Regions from separate parts of the Homo sapiens genome. Here regions 1, 2, 3, 4, 5 and 6 are each linked to region 7. Evidence: promoter capture Hi-C in 16 types of primary human blood cells and fetal thymus (Javierre and others, 2016). All regions are on one chromosome and are shown on one strand. Each heading gives the region's core, a stretch centred on a gene start or on the middle of the fragment in contact. The rest is flanking DNA. Distances are from core to core; before and after follow the strand shown. Region 1 overlaps STOM (stomatin). Region 2 overlaps STOM (stomatin). Region 3 has its middle 16 kb from the start of RAB14. Region 4 overlaps GSN (gelsolin). Region 5 overlaps LOC102723324 (a long non-coding RNA gene). Region 6 overlaps LOC102723324 (a long non-coding RNA gene). Region 7 holds the start of CDK5RAP2 (CDK5 regulatory subunit associated protein 2).

Evidence for each region. The method cuts DNA at HindIII sites, captures the fragments that hold promoters and counts their contacts. A CHiCAGO score of 5 or more calls a contact.
Region 1: a contact is called between a fragment that was not itself captured here and the fragment with the promoter of CDK5RAP2 in region 7, in 1 of 17 cell types (naive CD8 T cells). The highest score is 5.3, in naive CD8 T cells.
Region 2: a fragment that was not itself captured here is called in contact with the fragment with the promoter of CDK5RAP2 in region 7 in 3 of 17 cell types (activated CD4 T cells, naive CD4 T cells and total CD4 T cells); the score reaches 6.5 in activated CD4 T cells.
Region 3: a contact is called between a fragment that was not itself captured here and the fragment with the promoter of CDK5RAP2 in region 7, in 4 of 17 cell types (non-activated CD4 T cells, naive CD4 T cells, total CD8 T cells and 1 more). The highest score is 7.3, in non-activated CD4 T cells.
Region 4: a fragment that was not itself captured here is called in contact with the fragment with the promoter of CDK5RAP2 in region 7 in 1 of 17 cell types (activated CD4 T cells); the score reaches 6.0 in activated CD4 T cells.
Region 5: a contact is called between a fragment that was not itself captured here and the fragment with the promoter of CDK5RAP2 in region 7, in 8 of 17 cell types (naive CD4 T cells, activated CD4 T cells, naive CD8 T cells and 5 more). The highest score is 8.2, in naive CD4 T cells.
Region 6: a contact is called between a fragment that was not itself captured here and the fragment with the promoter of CDK5RAP2 in region 7, in 3 of 17 cell types (total CD4 T cells, activated CD4 T cells and total B cells). The highest score is 7.5, in total CD4 T cells.

The regions. Positions count from the first base shown.
Region 1 is chr9:121,342,802-121,345,501 of GRCh38, reverse strand. All of the region lies in intron 6 of STOM (stomatin), which reads left to right. Among named protein-coding and RNA genes, the nearest start is that of STOM, 26 kb to the left of the region's middle. The HindIII fragment of the contact is 9,319 bases long and covers 1-2,700 here.
Region 2 is chr9:121,360,690-121,363,389 of GRCh38, reverse strand. The region is part of intron 1 of STOM (stomatin); the gene reads left to right. Among named protein-coding and RNA genes, the nearest start is that of STOM, 8.2 kb to the left of the region's middle. The HindIII fragment of the contact is 5,018 bases long and covers 1-2,700 here.
Region 3 is chr9:121,216,679-121,219,378 of GRCh38, reverse strand. It overlaps a transcript of GSN not described here. Among named protein-coding and RNA genes, the nearest start is that of RAB14, 16 kb to the right of the region's middle. The HindIII fragment of the contact is 416 bases long and covers 1,050-1,465 here.
Region 4 is chr9:121,268,922-121,271,621 of GRCh38, reverse strand. All of the region lies in intron 1 of GSN (gelsolin), which reads right to left. Among named protein-coding and RNA genes, the nearest start is that of GSN, 2.1 kb to the right of the region's middle. The HindIII fragment of the contact is 3,100 bases long and covers 1-2,700 here.
Region 5 is chr9:121,399,627-121,402,326 of GRCh38, reverse strand. The region is part of intron 3 of LOC102723324 (a long non-coding RNA gene); the gene reads right to left. Among named protein-coding and RNA genes, the nearest start is that of STOM, 31 kb to the right of the region's middle. The HindIII fragment of the contact is 831 bases long and covers 929-1,759 here.
Region 6 is chr9:121,381,894-121,384,593 of GRCh38, reverse strand. All of the region lies in intron 2 of LOC102723324 (a long non-coding RNA gene), which reads right to left. Among named protein-coding and RNA genes, the nearest start is that of STOM, 13 kb to the right of the region's middle. The HindIII fragment of the contact is 3,623 bases long and covers 1-2,700 here.
Region 7 is chr9:120,578,743-120,581,442 of GRCh38, reverse strand. It overlaps CDK5RAP2 (CDK5 regulatory subunit associated protein 2), which reads left to right and starts at 1,276. Exons shown (of 38, transcript NM_018249.6): 1 at 1,276-1,523. The coding sequence starts at 1,465. RefSeq lists enhancers at 1,059-1,188, 1,042-1,604. The HindIII fragment of the contact is 6,111 bases long and covers 1-2,700 here.

The DNA.
Region 1 (2,700 bases), core at 101-2,600, 760 kb before region 7:
AACAAATAAATTGCACAGGAAAGGTGAGATAGAGTGGAATAATCTAAAGATTAAGAGACTTTATAGAAAAATTCCTTAGGCTAATTAGCCATCGGGGAAATGCAAATTCACATTATAAGCGGATGTCACACTAGACAGCTATCAGAATGGCCTGAAAAGAACGGAAAAGAACCAAGTGTGGGTGAGAGAGGAACTAGAACTCTCATATTCTGCTGGTGGCAGTGTAACTTAATACAACCACTGTGGAAAACAGTCTGGCAATGTCTATTCATACTGAACATTTGTATACCCTATGAGCCAGCAGCTCCAACTCCTAAGTATGAATCTAACAGAAATGCACTCATATGTTTACCAAAAGGCATGTACTAGAATGTTCACAGCAGCACATTGACCCAAACTGTAGAATACCCAAATGTCCATTCCTAGCTGAATGAATGAAGTCTGGTTTATTCACATGTAGGCATACTACATAGCAAAGAGAATGAATGTAAGTGCTCACACACATAATTTGAGTGAAAGAAGCCGGTCACAGAAGAGGACAGATTCTCCTACGTGTTTCTCTGTATGTTAGGTTTGGTTTTTAAAGTGTTTAGACCAGCTCTTAGTGGCCTGAAATGTAATATCTTTTGTGTTTGCATCAGCTTTTATTTCCTTTTCATAACTCTCAGAAAAACACCTGGCACATGCTTTTGGGCTCATGTTTCTGGGTGTAGAAGTCTATTAATTGAGAGGATGGAGTGCAGAAATACAGATCACCTTTCTCTGCCTTTTCCTCTGCCCAGACCACCTGGTCTGCAGAAGGGACAGGTAGCACCAATTTCACATACATGAAAATGCCAGACTTTAAAATGATGTTCTATAAATATGAAATGTTGATTGCTATGAGATTACTGCACATTCGACAAAAGCCGTGCACACCCACAAATAGCTTGCTTTGCTCTCTAAGATCCTATCAACGGAGTGTACTTGGCCTGTATTTAGACAAAGCCGGTGGTGTTGTTTACATCTTTGGCAGCTTGCTCAGTGTGGCTTTTCTATGAACAAAATGTGTGCCCAGCCCGGTGGGTCTGGCTTCTCAGCCAAGCGATTGTGTATTGATTGGTGGTGGGAAATGAGATATCTTTTCAGTTGGTCCATGTCCAAAGAAAAAAGTGCCTAATTGGACATCTGAGATGATATGGAAAAAATGAGAGCCTGCTGCTCTCATAGCAGGGGATTTCTGATGTATTCTCTGTAGTGCCTACCTTGGAATACAGTTCTGTGGTTTTCTTTGAGCAAAGCTGGCACTTGTCCCTTCTCACAGACCTAGGCAGGACATGATGTGTGGCTTTGATAAATTAAGGTTTTTATCCTATAAGCTGGATCCTTTCTCTCAGTGAGTACTATATTCTGTATCCTATCTCCATTAATGGCACTAATCTATGCAACCAAAACCTGGAAACCTGGGTCTCAGCCTGTGTCCCCCTTTCCTCCTCCTACCTAGTCTCCAAATTCCACTGATTCGCCCTCCTTCGGGGAGGGAGAATAGCTCCCCAAACCATTTCATTCTCTGTCCCCACCACCTATGAATCGCACCGGCCACTCTAAAGCAGTTCCACTAGCAGCTTTCACTGCCTTCTCTTCTAACCTCAGACATCTGTCAGAGAGCTTTTTCAAACTAGATCTGATGGAGTTTACTTACCTGCTTAAAATCATTCTGCAGCTTCCCATTGCCTACAGAATGAAGACCAAACACCCTGGCCCTCACTGCCCTTCAGAACCCGGCCCCATTCATCCCCCACCTTTCCCCTCTTCCTGCCATAGTATTCAGCCATTGACAGTTTTCTGGAATATACCATTTTTATACCTCAGTACCGTTTCATGTGTTCTGCCCAAAATATTCTTCCTCATCTTTTTCTAAACAGCAAACATTTTATCATTTAATATTCAACTTCTATAACCTCACCACGTCACCCTCTGGAAAAGTTGCTTTCTTCTGTTTGCTTGCACTGTGCCTTGTACATATGTCTGTCAGCATTTATCACACTAGAATGAAATGATCTACTTCCATGTCTGCCTTCCCTACCTGACCAGGAGCTGAAGAAGGCTAGGGATTCCACTCTATCCTTAGCTTTTCCTACACAGGGCTTATTAACCCTAGAAGGCCCCCAAATTTTGCTGTGTGAGTGAATGAAATCTCACTGGGCATAAGACCATCACCTCCAATTCTGATATTCATGGAGTATTATGGACCATTAATTATTCAAGATTCAAGTGAGGATAATAACCTGGAGAAATTGTACTTTTAATCTTGATAATTATGGTGTCTTAATACCTTTCCTTCTTCTAGGATTATGAATTAAAGTAACTACCTTGAATCTTTTGTGCATTAAAGCATAGTTGGACCCAAAAATCAGGTCTTGTCACTTGCCATTCCTCTATAATAGCCCCCTTTATTCATTTAACACTTTATATACTTTCTCTGTCTTCCTCACAAGTGGTCCTCTGAAGTACATGTTAGTCTGCTTTAAGAATGGGAAACTGAGGTTCAGGATGTTCAGTAACCTCTCTGAGGACATTCGGCTGGTAAATGTTAGATTTGGGATTTGAACTCAAGTCCATTTGACTCCAGAACTCCTGTTCTGTCTACTACTCGAGTGATCTTCAAACTTTTTTGCCTGTGAAACCCCTTACAGAATTTAGAAAAACTATAAAGTCCAT
Region 2 (2,700 bases), core at 117-2,616, 780 kb before region 7:
AATCCTGAATACATATGTTTTTAAGAAGAAAGTTCAAAAATTGCCAAGACTTTTCAATTTGGCCTACTGTTACCCCTAAAAAGTGCTGCTGCAACTGAATAGCATGTGTTTTTGAGACTAAACTTCCAGCCTTTCTGTCTTGCCCCATCCAGGCAGGACTGCTCTCATCAATTTACAACATGAAGTGTTTTATTTGCACTCTGTGAAGGCAGAAGGAAAAAAGTGTCCGTTAAAAAGTGGCAGTTTAGGTATTTCAGTAATTCCTTAGCCCATCCTTTCTTATTGTGTAGGATAATGCTTATGACTCACAGTCAGATTCTCAGCAGAGGAAATCCAGTTATCTGTTGAACTTTACAATAATAAAATCTCAGTGATGAGTGGATTTATTACTCCACATGATTTCCAGTAGTGCTAAGGTTAATAGATCTGAAAGTAAATCAGCTGATGGGGAACGGGGACAACTACAGCCCTCTGGACTAATCAGCCTGTGTTGTCATCTTGGAAAGAATGTTTAACTGCCTTTCCAGAAACTTACCCAACAAAAATTACTACACAACAAATTTCATTTGTTTCATGGTTTGCTTGGTTTTCTTTTGTTTCTTCCTACAAGGTCTTTAGCCTTATTACTTTAGAACTTCAGGAGGCATATTTTAACACCTACTTCACAGATTTTTGTAAACATTATAAATACTCATGTATGTAAGGAGGAGCTACATGTGGCTAACATGTCATAGGAATTCATAAATGGTAGTTATTAGGAGTAGTAACAAAAGATACCTTCAGAATGAGAGAATTTTAAGAGTTGTATAATTTCATCTTTTCAGAAAAATTAACTTACACAGGAAATAAGCAGGTACAGAAACACTGCTAAATATATATTCAATGCAGCAGTTTCTAAGTGAGAAATTTGGACACAACAGATTTCATCATATAAAATGGAATTAATTAATTAATCTTTAATAATGATAAAGAATATGTGCTGATATGAAAAAATGTTCATAACATGGATGGGAGGGAGAAGATTTTAAATCACTGTGTATACCATTCTTTCATTATTGAAAAAATACAGGCTAGAAAAGGTTTAAAAGACGTATATCAAGGCAAAAAACATCCAGAGATAAAGTATAGATAATGTTTCTGTTTGTTGAGCTATCATTTCTAATTTTTATAGTAACTTTTGCTTTTAAAGTAAAAAAGCAATTTTAGAAAATGTATGTGAGTTTCCTGGAGGTAAGCCCAACTTGAATGTTCAATACAAAAATTCAAATGTACAGGCTTATGTCCATATTCAGACCCTTCTTTGATTAGTTAAAAGTTTATTCTACTGCCATTTTGGTAATAAAAGAAAAAAAAATACTCTAAACCAGGAGTCCCCAACTCCCAGGCCACAGACGGATCAGATCAGCAACATTAGATTCTCATAAGAGCACAAACCCTATTGTGAACTGCACATATGAGGGATCTAGGTTGTGTATTCCTTATGAGAACCTAATGTCTGATGATCTGTGGTGGAACAGTTTCATCCCAAAACCATGTTCCCCAACCCTTTCCTGTGGAAAAATTGTCTTCCACGAAACTGGTCCCTGGTGCCAAAAAGGTTGGGGACCATTGCTCTAAACTATGGCAAAGTAGTATTTACAACCAAGTATCATAGGATCCCTAATTTTTAGGAACATTCTCAACCAGCAAAATACCCACAAGTGGCCGGGTGCATTGGCTCACGCCTGTAATCCCAGCACTTTGGGAGGCCGAGGCCGGAGGATCACGAGGTCAGGAGATCAAGACCATCCTGGCTAACACGGTGAAACTCCGTCTCTACTAAAAATACAAAAAATTAGCCAGGCATGGTGGTGGGCACCTGTAGTCCCAGCTACTGGGGAGGCTGAGGCAAGAGAATGGCGTGAACCCAGGGGGCAGAGCTTGCAGTGAGCCGAGATCTCGCCACTGCACTCCAGCCTGGGCGACAGAGTGAGATTACATCTAAAAAAAAAAAAAAAAAAAAAAAAAAAGTCCACAAGTGTATTAACCAAAATATCACTATTTGTCCCTTTCCCCATAAAACTGGTAGGAAGGATTCAGTCCTAAAGTAATACATGGGAAACTTGAAGGAAATGAATTTCCTGAGATTTTAGTGAGTGAGAATTTCTTTTCTCTTATTCCCAGAAGTGGTAGATGACTAAGGGTTCATTTATAAGCCTGCTAGAGTTTAAGCCTCACCTCTGAGCTATGCATTTATAGCACAACATGCTATAAATAGACACAGCTGGAATTAAGAGGGCTTCCTCTGTAAAAACATCAGATTTCAGTCTCAGAACTCTAGTGATGCATTCCCAACTTAGATACTGTGTACCTTTTTGAGGGGTAACCAGGTGGGGAAGAATTTTGAGAGGTGAAGGTAGGATACTTTCATTTTAAAGTCATTAGAAAAATATGAAAGTGCCATTTTCCCAGTGTATACACTGATTATTTCTAGCCAAGCATTTGATATGTGAAAGACCAAATCCAGTTTTCAAAATGTGTACTTAATTCCTTGTTCCTGGTGATTTGCAATCCCATATACACATCTGGGGTTCTCAAAAACACAATGTGACATGGGAACTGACACAAAAAAAACTGGGCTGAACTTTTTGGCTTGTCCTCATGTAGATCATAAATGAACTTTTTGAGAGTCTTTGAATGTCCCAGCCTAGCCAGACTGGG
Region 3 (2,700 bases), core at 8-2,507, 640 kb before region 7:
CCCTCTGTAATCCCACACCTTGGGAAGCCAAGGCAGGAGGATCACTTGAGCCTAGGAGTTCAAGACCAGCCTGGGCAACATGGTGAGACTAGTCTCTATTTAAAAAAAAAAAAAAAAAATCCCCTAACTTGAACCTTCTGGTATTTGGTGTGTTTTGGGGAACTGAGTCAGGAGACCGGGTAAAGAGAAGCAGCAAGCGCAGCAGCAGCAGACACAGAGCCCTGGCAGAACTGCCCGGCCAGAGGAGTTGGCCCCCACCAGGTGGATCTGTCCATCAAGGAAGCATCCTCAGGACTCTGAGAAACATCAAGGAAGTGAAACTGAATAAAGATATTGGACTTCAGGTGTCATGCAGGATGGATGCTTGGACAAAACTGGTAGGGTAACCTCCAAATACCAGATCATTTCAGGACCCTGGGAGATGAATATTATTGTCCTCCATTTTACATACAAGAAAAATGAAACTTGTGAAAGTTGCCAGTACCAAAATGGAGTCACTTAGGCTAAACTCTCACAAAATGGAGAGGGGAGGCCATGAAGGAAGGGTCCTCATGCATGTATGCCTACAACAGAAACTATCCAAGAAATTCCACATAAGCCACCTGGCTTGCACAGGGACATTTGTCCAACAGTGGCTGTCTCCACCAATAAGCTAATGCCAACTCCTGCAACAAGCTCCTGTAACCAATGGTCTTTTTTTCAAATTAGCTTACATGTACGTTTCCTCCTTTCTTTATTTTTTTTGAGACAGAGACTCACTCTGTTACCTAGGCTGGAGTGCAGTGGTGCGTTATCGGCTTACTGCAACCTCCGCCTCCCGAGTTCAAGTGATTCTCGTGACTCAGCCTCCTGAGTAGCTGCAATTATGGGTACACGTCATGATGCCTGGTTCATTTTTGTATTTTTAGTAGTTACAGGGTTTTGCCATATTGGCCAGGCTGGTCTTGAACCCCTGACCTCCAGTGATCCACCTGCCTCAGCCTCCCAAAGCACTGGGATTACAGGCATGAGCCACCGAGCCTGGCCTCTCGTCCTTTCTCTTAAAAGCTTCCTCTTGCCCCATCCCCTTTGGTGCACCTGTGGTCCACCACAGCATGTGCACCCAAAATCGCAATTCCCTGTTATTCTCAAATAAACTCTTTGTTTTGGAGAACTGGTCTCTCTGCTGTTTATTTCAGGTTGACAGACCTAAAATATAATACAATATTAAATGACTGCCAGACAATTCATAGCAGACCTATACTCCATGACCACCCTTCTTAAGAGCTCAACAAATGTTCTGAACATGCTTAGTCATAGCTAAACTGTGAGTCAGGGCATGAGGTAGACTGGACACATACATAAAAAGAATGAATAAGATCAGGATATGCAAAACAATATGGACAATTTGATCGTACTTATGTAAAAGAGAAAACACACACCAAAGTTATATCTTTATGTATGTACCCTTATATACGCAAAAGCTTGAAACAGACCTGGTAGCAGTATTAACGGTTGGGTAGAAAAGAGCAGAGAAAGGAGGGCTTGTTTTGTTTGAGGTTATAATAATAATAATAATAATAATAATAATAATAATAATACATTTCTATATTATTTGAAATATTTAAAAATTTAATTAAATTTAAAAAATTTAAAGAAATGGCTGTTGTGGGCTGAATTGTGCCACTCAGCCACATCCCAATTGAATTGAAGTCCTAACCCCCAGTACCTCAGAATGTGACTGTATTTAGAGACAGGGTCTTTAATGAGGTAATTAAATTAAAATGAGGTCACTAGGGTGGGCCCTAATCCAATATGAATGGTATCTTTATAAGAAAAGGAGATTAGGGGCCTATTGGAGGGTTTAGGTTGGGAGGAGGGAGTGGCTCAGGAAAAAGAACTAATGGGTACTAGGCTTAATACCTGGGTGACAAAATAATCTGTACAACAAACCCCCAGGACAGAAGTTTGCTTCTGTAACAAATCTGCACAGGTACTCCTGAACTTAAAATAAAAGTTATTTTTTTTTTTTTTGAGACGGAGTTTTGCCCTGTTGCCCAGGCTGGAGTGCAATGGTGCGATCTTGGCTCACTGCAATCTCCGCCTCCCAGGTTCAAATGATTCTCCTGCCTCAGCCTCCTGAGTAGCTGGGATTACAGGTGCCCACCACCACACCCAGCTAATTTTTTTTTGTATTTTTAGTAGAAACAGGGTTTCACCATGTTGGCCAGGCTGGTCTCGTGATCCACCCTGACCTTGTGATCCACCCGCCTTGGCCTCACAAAGTGCTGGGATTATAGGCGTGAGCCAATGTGCCCAGCCAAAGTTGAATTTTAAAAAAGAAATCTCCTTAAGTTAGAAAAATACTTTAAAAATCTAAATAAAGTGGAAGACAAAACCCAGAACTAAAAAAAGAAGAGGAAATTAGGATGCAGACACAAACAGAGGGAAGACCATGTGAAGACACAGGAAGAAGACAGTCATCCACAAGCCAAGGAAGAAACCAACCCTCAGAAGAATGCAACGCTTGGACATCTTGATCTTGGACTTGTAGCCTCCAGAATAAAATAATTTTCTGTTGTTTAAGCCACTGAGCCTGTACTATTTGTTACGGCAGTCCTAGCAAACTAATACAATGACCAAGGTAAAATTCCTGTCTTCCAGGAACTCCTAGCCTAGTGGGAGAAGTGGGTAATAGAATAATCTCACTATAATACCAAG
Region 4 (2,700 bases), core at 17-2,516, 690 kb before region 7:
CAGGACTAGAAAGAATTTTCAAGAGAATGTTTAGTGCTGTCATTAATAGCTATGGCTCTGTCGTCAGACCTCTGGAATCCTTGCACCATCACCCAATAGCCACACAACCCGGGGCATGTTATTCAGCCTCGGACTCAGTTTCCTCATCTGTAAAAGAAGATACTAGTATCTACCTCAGAGGAATGGTTGCAAGGAATCAATAAAGTAATTAATGTTCCAGTGCTTGGTATATTAAAAGATAGCTTTTTTTGTCTTTTCTTTTTTTGTTTTGAGACAGTATTGTTCTGTCATCCAGGCTGGAGTGCAGTGGCGTGATTTCAGCTTACTGTAACCTCCGTCTCCAGGGTTTAAGCAATTCTCATACCTCAGCCTCCCAAGTAGCTAGGATTACAGGAGCATCCCAGCACGTATTTTCAGTAGAGACAGGGTTTCACCATGTTGACCAGGCTGGTCTCAAACTCCTGGCTTAAGCCATCAACCCAACTCGGCCTCCCAAAATGCTGGAACTGCAGGTGTGAGCCACCATGCCCAGTTAAAAGATAGCTTTTTATTATTATCATGCAAACCAACATCTCTCCATTTTACACATGAGGAACCAGAGGCTCAGAGAGATAGGATTTGCCCAAGGTCACCCAAAGAACCAAGACTGGGGGTCCATTTCCAAGTCAGTGCTTCTAACTTCTCTCACACCTGTGGTCTCTGATAAGCAAATATACACACCCAGAGGCCGCAGACACAGGATGTAAAAGTTTTCTTAAAGAAAACCAGAGCTCAGTGTCTCAGCAACGTACCATAGACCAAGCAGAAATCATCTCTATGACCCACATCACAAATGACCCAAACTATTCACATGGAGTAGGGGAAAGTGACCCACTGTCACTGGATGGCTAAAAGTGAAGGCATCCAATCAACGTGTTTGGCAGGAGTGCACACACCATTGTTAACAGTGGCGACCTCTGGGGAAAGAGGCGGGCTTGGAGGGATTCTTTAACAATTTTTGTTTGTTTTAAAACTCATGAAAAAGAAAAAAAAGTTACAATGCTGAATACCTTAGCAACCTTCTCCAGTAGGTCTAGCCTGTTGTCTGCTTTTAGATGAAATTTATAGCAGGTTCTGAGACCTTCAGCTGGGCTTCCAGAATCTGCTGCTCTGACCCATCCCAGTGGCCACTGCTCTAGTTCAGACCTGCAATCTACTTCACTTGAATCATGCAACAGCCTCCTCAGGGCCTTCCTGCCTCCAGATCAGCCTCGTTCAATGCATCCCCTACATCAGCCATTCAGAATAACGAGTTTTTAAAAATCACTGCTCTGTCAAAACCCTTTCTCAGCTCTTCATTGCCTTCAGGATGAGGTCCAAACCCTTAGCTTATAATCTAGTTCCATTTTCATTTAGATTCTCAACCTCCCACCACCCCGCCCTTCTCCCATCCTCCACTCTAGCCACATGGATGGCTCAGAAAATCTCAGTGCCTTTGCACTAGTGGTTCCTGCTTCCCAGAATGTCTTTTCCCCCAACTCCTGTTTCTCCTGGTAAATGATTATTCATTCTGAGGTCTGGCTCACCTAGACAAAATTAGTCACTCCTCTTGCAGGCTGAAGTCACTCTTAATATGGCACAAAAGTGTCAAACAGTATAGATGGCAAGCATCTTGAGGACAGAGAGCTCTGTCCTCTTCCAAGGCTCTTTGGCCCCTCGCAGGGCAAGGCACAGAACACAGGCCCAGAGAAGTGCTGAAAGGAGGGAGGCGGGGAGGAAGGAAATGCCATGCGGGGCAAACCCTGCAGCCACCCCTCCTGGGAGCAGCCTGTTTCCAGGCTCATGTTAGTCCCTAATAAAAGGACTGTGGAAAATTCTGGAGTAAACTTTCCTCCCCTGATTCACACAGAAACCTTCTTTGCTGCTGTGTAACTCACCGAGTGCCAACCCAAGCTCCCCTGGCTGTTTACAATTTCCCTGGCATTTATAAATAGCATGGCCCCAGAAAGAAAAATGGAGTTTCAAAGGAGCTGAAAGCCGACCGTTCCCACCCCCATCCTTCCTCCTCTGTTTCCAAGCCTCTCCCCCTTAACAGCCCCAAGAAACACCAACCAGCACCCCCAAGTGTGTATGTACAGGGAATGCTTGTCCCTTTAGTAAACGGAACACCCAAGAAGGAGGCTAGAGTCCCTCCCAGCAAGGAGTCCGCAAACGGCAGACCGGAATTGGGTCTCAGCCCTACCCTGCCTCACTGTGTGACAATTAGCCCATCATAAACTCTCTGGGTCCTTGACTTTTCTCAACTGTGAAATGGAGGAAATGGAGATGGGGTAAGATTCTAGCAAGCTATGGTCGCTGTAAACGGCAGAGCGGTGAGAGGTCCTGGTGCCCTGGTCAGAAATGTGGTCCTGGGAGAACAGGACACACAGGATTAAGTGTTTGAAAAGTCCCCAGATGCCAAACAAAAGCGAAAGGCACCTCCCCAGAGGCCCCGCCTTCCACAAAGTCCAATTACCCTCAGGACAGCCCAGAATGAGTTCTGGGTGTTTTAAAGCTCCCTTCCATGCTCTGAGGAGGGTGTGAAGACAGGATAAAGCGACAGATGTCTGGGCAGACAAGGAGCTAGGAAGAAAGCCAATGTCTCCTGCTCACCCACACCCCCAGCCCCCAGCCTTCCAAGGACTGGGGCTTCCCCCTGGGCACTGCCCAGACCAGCCAGCC
Region 5 (2,700 bases), core at 95-2,594, 820 kb before region 7:
TATCTGGAAATTTTGCTGAAGTTGTTTATCAGTTCTAGGAGACTTTTGGCAGTTTTTAGGGTTTTCTATGTATAGATTCCTATCATCAGCAAAGAAGAAGTCAAACTATCTTCTTCTTTTCCTATTTGGATGTCTTTTATTTCTTTCTTTCACCTGATTGCTGTGTCAAGGACTTTCATTACCATGTTGAATAGGAGTGGTGAGAGTGGGCATTCTTGTCTTGTTCCAATTCTCCAGGGGAATGCTTCCAATTTTTGCCCCTTCAGTATGATGTTAGCTGGTTTATCATAGATGGCTCTTATTTTGAGGTATGTTCCTTTGGTGACTATTTTTTAGAGGGCTTTTATCATGATGGGATGTTGAATTTTATAAAAAGCTTTTTCTGTGTCTATTGAGATGATCATATGGTTTTTGTTTTTAATTCTGTTTATGTGGTGAATCACATTTATTGATTTGTGTATGTTGAACCAACCTTGCATCCCAGGAATGAAACCAACTTGATCATGATGAATTAACTTTTTAATGTGCTTCGGATTCAGTTTGCTAGTATTTTGTTGAGGATTTTTGCACATACATTCATCAGAGATATTGGCCTGTAGCTTTCTTTTATCATTATGTCTTTGCCAGATTTTGGTATCAGGGTGATGCTGGCTTTATAGAATGAGTTGGAGAGGAGTCCTTCCTCCTCAAATTTTTTGAATAGTTTCAGTAGAATTGGTACCAGTTCTTCACCACATTAAGAGATTCAAGCAGAAAAAAAGTTACAGTATTTCTACATAGATGCAAAATTTCTAAAGCATTTGATAAAACTTAATATCCATTCAAGATTTTTAAACACTTAAGAAAAAAGAAATAGAATGAAAGTTCTTAATCTAATAAAAAGTATCTGTAGAAAACCAAAGAAAAGTAATGTTTTATGTCAAAAGCTTTTCCTGTAAAGTCAGGAACAATTAAAGGGTGCCTAATATCACCATTTCTATTCTGTGTTGTACTAGAGCTTCTAACTAGTACATGAAGGATAAGAAAAACAAATTAATGGTATAATTATCTACAAATGATAAATTGTATATGTAGGAAAAAGAGATTTATTTGAATTATAAGAGCATTTAGCAAAATCCCTAGATGAATAATCAATATGACAAAAGTAGTTACATTTCCAAACACCAGCCATAATTGTTAGCAAATGATTTTTTAAAGATGCCTTTTTAGCCTAAAAAAATCAAGTATCTACAAATAAGTGTACCAAAAGATATATAAGACTTTTATGTCTATTGAAAGACACTAAGGAAAACTGAAGTAAATCGTGATTGGAAGGCTCAATAGTATAAAAATATCAGTTCACTCTAAAATGATTTAATGATTCAGTTCAATCCCAATAAATATTCCCAGGAGGGTTTTTTTTTTTTTGACAGAATTTGACAGACTGATTTTAAACTTTATGGAAAATTTAAAGGCCAAGACTATCCAAAACATTCTTTTAAAAAATGAGGTGGGAGTTCTTGATGTACTAAATATTAACAATGATTATAAAGTAAAATGATAAAGACAATATGATATTGTCACAGAAATTGACAAATAAATCAATGGAGCATAACCAAGATAGGCAATGACTCACATATAAATGGACACTTCATATATAACAGTAACGGCACTGCAGAGTCCTAAAGAAAAAAAAATAATCTTTTCAGTAAATGGTGCTTTGAAAACAGAACATTCACATGGGAAAAAAATGAAATGTACTCTTTCATCAAAGTAAGCTTCCATGAGTTCAGGGTTCTTTCAGTTTTGTTCACAGCTGTAACCCCAATGCCTAGAAATGTAACTGCAATATAGAAGGTATACATACTCACTCAGTATTTGTGAAGTGAATGAATGAATGAATGAATGAACGAACGAACGAATAAATGACGACTTTGGAAACAGTTCTCAAGTTTTTAATTCATCTGTCTTCTTTTAAACATCTAACTAGGAAAAAAGTACATGAGAGTTACCAGTAGATGGCGCAACATAACAAAGAAAGTAATCAACACATTCTTTCCTTCTGAAAGGAATTGCTTCAAGAAAAGCCTGCTGATGTCACCTGTGCTGTAATAACTCATATTTCACTGACTTATACCCCACTGCACAGATGTTATTCTGTTCTGCTAAGTATTTTAGTTTTTCTTGTACCAGTACAGGTTACCAGTTCCTCCTTCTCCCTTTCCCCACCCTCTCCATCCCTTGGAACTCCCCCAACCTGTATTTAACTGAATCTCCCAATGTACTAAAGCCCTCAGGTTTCCAGAGCTGTGGGGTAGTCCACGGTGAGAAAGAATCTGTCCTCTCTGAGTTACACTCTGTTAAACGGGGTCACAGATTAGTGAAACAGTTCTTTCGTATTTTACTTCCAGCCTCCTTTCTCCGTGGGACCCCAGATTGGATCCATTGGGAGGTAGATTTGAATAGCAACTACCATGCATTATCAAGGATCACCATTTCTTTGCACCACTAAAGGCTCTCTTGCCAGGTCATGGTTATCCCAGAAGGTGTTTCAGTGCTTATGCCGATAAGCTCCTGTCACTAATCTGTCCGCCCATTCATATTAGGCTAGCATGACCAATTTGTCCTGGTTTGCTGGGGACTTTCACAGTTTTAGCATTGGAAGTCTCACATCCCAGGAAATCGAAATCCCTTAATCTTGGATAAACCAGAACAGCTGGT
Region 6 (2,700 bases), core at 84-2,583, 800 kb before region 7:
TTCTGAGGGTTGGGCTGTAGAAAAATATGCACAAGCCTCTGCTATACTCAGCTCATCTGTTCACTACAATGTAGGTCAACTGTCCTTAAACCAAACATAGGTTCCTGAAAACTCTTTCCAAATTAAAATAATGAAGCATTTATGATGTCTTTTTAGGAAAATTTACTTCATCTCCAATTGATAAAGGGAAGTTCTCTTTTAATAGAAGAATGTAGATAATAATTGTAGAAGAAATGATACATCGGAAAAATCACCATTTGCCAATGCCCACTCCTCAGTGAAATAATTGATTCAGGTAATGATCATCAGTGGCTATAAAAATTAGCAAATAAAGCAAATACAGCAAAATGATAGCACCTATCAAATCTAAATGATGGGTAAATTCTTTCAACCTTCCGTATGATTAAAAATTTTTCAATTAAATATTGGGGAAAAAAGTCTCTCAATTTAAGATGAAGTTTTTCCCAGGAGGATCCATGTTACCTTATAAAAAGGGAACTCTGATGACTGACCCACCAGTCATCTAGGCATGCCCAGATATATCTCCCAATGTGAACTTCTAAGGTAAGTACAGCTTAAGTCTGAGCTCAGAACCCTGCCACACTTGAGTCGTAATTTCTACCTTGTCCCTTCCTCTTTCTGATCCTTTCAGCTCTGCTTCCTCCCATCTGTCTTCAGCAAGATCCTTGAAAACACGTATCGGTTTACTATTGCATAAACACAACAGAGTGCAAGCCAGCACCATCCGAGGAGTTTTTCAAAATGTACACGCCCAGAGCCTGACTCTCATATATTTCAATTCATTAAGTCTTGAGTGGGGCCTGGGCACATCATTTTGGAAACTGTATCCAGATAATTCCGATGGACCTCTCTGAAAGAGAACTATTTCTATGAAGTTATCTTTAGGTTTTTACCAAGTGAATCTATACACATAAGAAGAAATTTAGAAATCAAAAAGAGAAATATCAAATTAGGAAACTCAAAAAGTTCAATTTGCTGTGGTAGTTATTTTATTTTATTTTATTTTTGAGACGGAGTCTCGCTCTGTCGCCCAGACTGGAGTGCAGTGGCGCCATCTCTGCCCACTGCAAGCTCCACCTCCCGGGTTCACGCCATTCTCCTGCCTCAGCCTCCTGAGTTTTTGGGACTTCAGGGGCCCACGACCACGCCTGCCTAATTTTTTTTGTATTTTTAGTAGAGATGGCGTTTTGCCGTGTTAGCCAGGATGGTATCAATCTCCTGACCTCGTGATCCGCCCGCCTCAGCCTCCCAAAGTGCTGGGATTACAGGCGTGAGCCACCGTGCCTGGCCGCTGTGGTAGTTATTAATGCTGCTCACTTATGTCTAATTCTCCTCTCTTTCCTAAAGCCCTTGAAGTTAGACCTGGTCATGCTACTGGCTTTGACCAATGAAATTATAAGCAGCAGTGGCACTTGTCACTTCTAAAAAGAAATATTTAAGAACCAGTGCAGAAGTCACCATTTCCCTTTTTTTCTGCCTTGGCCATGATAAAACATACGGCAAATGGAGCATCCCTCAGCCTAGATTCCTGGGTGACTATAATGAAAGAAGTCTCCCAGTCAAGCCACATAGGACATAAAATGGAAATGAGAAATAAACTTGTTTGTGATAAACTAAGGATATATAAAAGTTGTTCATTAATGCAGCAAACCTAGCCTAACCTGACTGATAAACTGGCAAATCTGTTTTTTCACAGAGGTAAAGCCATTTAGGAGAATCAGTTCTCTCTTCACCAATGACTAAAAATTTACACAGAGAGAGTTGAGTAAAGGAAAAGAAGGGAACTTCAGGGCCAGGGAGACTTAAGTTTAAATCCATGTTGTCACCTATTTGTAATAATAAAAAGAATATACAATGACTGTGTAATATACAATTACTTTTAATAACCACTAACATTTATGAAGTACTCACTCTGTACCAGCCACTGTGCTGAGCACTTTACATGAATTATTTCACTTAGTCTTTCATTTTACAGATGAGAAAAATGACATTAAAGGAGTTAGATAACTTGCCTAAGGTCACAGATTTAGGAAATGGTGGAACAAGAATACTAACACAGGGAATTAGGCCACAAAGACTGTGCATTTAACTATTACTCTGTACTGCCTTCCTGTGTGACTTTGACCAAATTAGTTGATCTCTTTGAACCTTAGTTCCCTCAATTTAGAAGAGGGCTGAGAACTATAATGCAGACTTTTTGCAAAGATTAAAGGAGATAATTATATAAAGCTATTAATATGATTACTGGCATCTAGTAGACCAGGCAGTCTATTATTTTATGGACATGGTAGCCATTATTTTATAGTAGCTAATATTTCACTCATTCACCTCTTCTCTATAAACAGAGAATAGTCAATATAAAGAAAGGTAAAACATGAATGTAACTTGTAAAGGTAACTTGTCATGGCTTATGGGAATTTAGTACTGTAAAATGATAGGTAACACAAATACAATAATCAAACCTTACATTACAATGCTTGCATTACTTAATGGCCAATATTGAACTGACCATTGCTGACTTCTCAAAACAGGTTTTTTTTGTTTTGGTTTGGTTTGTTTTTTTTTGAATTGGAGTCTCATTCTGTCACCCAGGCTGGAGTGCAGTGGCATGCTCTCAGCTACCTGCAACCTCTGCCTCCCGGATTCAAGCAATTCTCCTGCCTCAGCCTTTCGAGTAGC
Region 7 (2,700 bases), core at 27-2,526:
ACCCCAGCACTTTGGGAGGCCAAGGTGGGAGGATTGCTTGAGGCCAGGAGTTCAAGACCAGCCTGGGCAACATAGTGAGACCCTGTCTCTATTTAAAAAAAAAAAAAAAAGAATGAGGAAACAGGGTGAAAGGGGAATTGTTCAAGATTACTGGGAAAGTCACTATCTATCCACTCACCAACCATTTCAAGTTATTTTCATCGGGCTCTCTCACAAGGGCCTGCAGAGGAAGGAGCAACACTGAGTTGAGGAGGGGAAGGTTAATTTCATTGCTTAAGCTCTGCCAAGATTATCTAAGTGTTTGGTGATTGCTATGTGCTTTAAGAAAGGCAGCCAAGGGGCCGGTGCTGTGGCTCACGCCTGTAATCCCAGCAGTTTGGAAGGCCGGGGTGGGCAGATCACGAGGTCAGGAGATTGAGACCATCCTGGCCAACATGGTGAAACCCCGTCTCTACTAAACATACAAAAATTACCCGGGTGTGGTGGCGCAAGGCCGAGGCAGAAGAATCGCTTAAACCCAGAAGGTGAAGGTTGCAGTGAGCTGAGATCGGGCCACTGCACTCCAGCCTGGCGACAGAGGCACCATTTCAAAAAAAAAAAAAAAGAAAGGCAGCCAGGGTTATGCAGAGAGCCCTCATCTAGTTGGCAGGAGCTGCAGACCCCCACTCCAGTTGAAAGACATTGTCAATACTTAATTACTTTGGGAGAGTCCTTTCCTCTTGCTGGCCCTCAGTTTTCTGACCACAGGTGCCTTTGAGTCCTAATGGTAATAAAAGACCAATAGGTGAGAGACTGGAGTGGGAGTGCTGTTGACCACTGGCTCATGGGAATGAGTTATTTGCTTCAAACTAAGTCTGCAAATTACTGTTTGCCTTGAGATTCCGCACGTAGTATTTTTCCAAAGCAAGGCAGCACTCAGTTATCTGAGTTTCAACTTAAGGTCAAATCCCAAAGTTTTGGGGTCATTATTCTAGAAAAGCAAACACGAGGTTAGGAACTTTGAGGATTCCTGAGTGGCTGTATTCATTTCCATCTCCCGCGTAAATTAACGGACTAGGGCCCGCTTTGGCCCTCAACAAAGATGGCACCCGCCCTCGCCTCTCCCTAAGTGCCCTCACAAAAAATGGCAGCCGGCCTTTTTTTGTCTCTTATTTTTGCTTGGCTTAAGCACGGATGCTTTGCCCTTAGTTAAGATGGCACCTATCCCCGCTTCCCTGCCCGTCCTCTGGCGCCAGCCGGTCGGCTTCACTGCGTGCGCCTCCGTGACCCCGCCTCGTTTCCGTAGGAAGAAGCGCCGGGAAAGATGGCGGCGTCTGTGGTTTGAATTCCAGCGGCGCCGCCAGAGTCTGAACAAGAGCTGGGGTGGAGGGGGCGGGGACCTGGGGAGCCCGGCGGGTCGCTATCGCGGGGGGTACTAGTGGCGCCGCCGCCACAGACACCAACGCTGTCGCCACCTCTGTAGCCATGATGGACTTGGTGTTGGAAGAGGACGTCACCGTCCCTGGGACGCTCAGCGGCTGCAGGTGCGGCCGGGGCATTGGTGGTCGTGGTAACCGGGCCGGGGTTCCAGCTGGTGGGATTTCGTTCTAACGCGGCCTTGGGGTTTGCTCTTGAGGGTGTCTGGCCAGGGGCAGTGTGTGGGGTGGGTTCCTTCGGAGAGGGTCTCTGGGGGGCCCACCACCTGACACTCTGGAGGGCTGGGAGCCGCGACCTGCACCACAATTGCCAGTAGCATTGCGCCATGTACTTTGTAGAGCGTGTGAAGAACAGGTAAGGAGTTTTCTGAAAGAGTAGGACGAGGGTGGGGCCACTTGGAGTATCCCGTTAGTGGGGATTGGTGGAGAACAGGGACCTTGAGGGCACCTGATGGTTCCTTCTGGTTTGAGAGTTTGTTTTCATTATGGAGAGAGTGTAGCCGGTATGCCCAGACTTTGCTTTTTGGGTCACATAGTGGCCACCCAGGAGGCAATGGAGTGCAATGATTAAGAACCTTGGCTAGAGTTGGACAAAACTGGATTCAAATCCAGCCCTGTAAACTGACTAGCTGTGTGACCTTGGTAAAGTGATTTCACCGGCTTTCCCATCTGTAAAATGGGCTAGTAATATCCACCCAACAGAGTTGGGGTGAGGATTAAAAGAGGTGATGCCTGTCGAGCCATTTGCTTGGCAGGTGTAGTGCCTGCCACATAATCAGTGCTTAAAAAATGATCTTGTGTTGCCATTAGTGTCATTATTACTACTGTCATCAAAGGTGATATGAATCAGGGAATAATGGCCAAGAGTGGCCTCCCATGGACCTGCCCCAAGAGACTGTGGGAGTCCCCATTGCTGGTGGAGCTGGGGTCTGGTAGGAAGGCCTAACAGAGCGCAACTCTGCTCCACGGCTGGCCCCTGTGGTTGTCCTAGACTCCTGGTTGGAGAGTGAGTAGAGGGAAGAGGAGGAGAGCCCTGACGGAGAACCTGCACTGTTTATCCAGCTCTACTATGGACAAGCTGCTGCTTTTAGTCAACAGATCCTAATTGAAAGGGTGACCATGTTATTTATTGTGCTAACTGGGACACTTAAGAGTGAAAAGAGCCAGGTGCGGTGGCTCACCTGTGTAATCCTAGCCCTTGGGGAGGCCGAGGTGGGCCGATTTCTTGAGCTCAGGAGTGTGAGATCAGCCTGGGCAACATGGTGAAATCCTATCTCTACAAAAA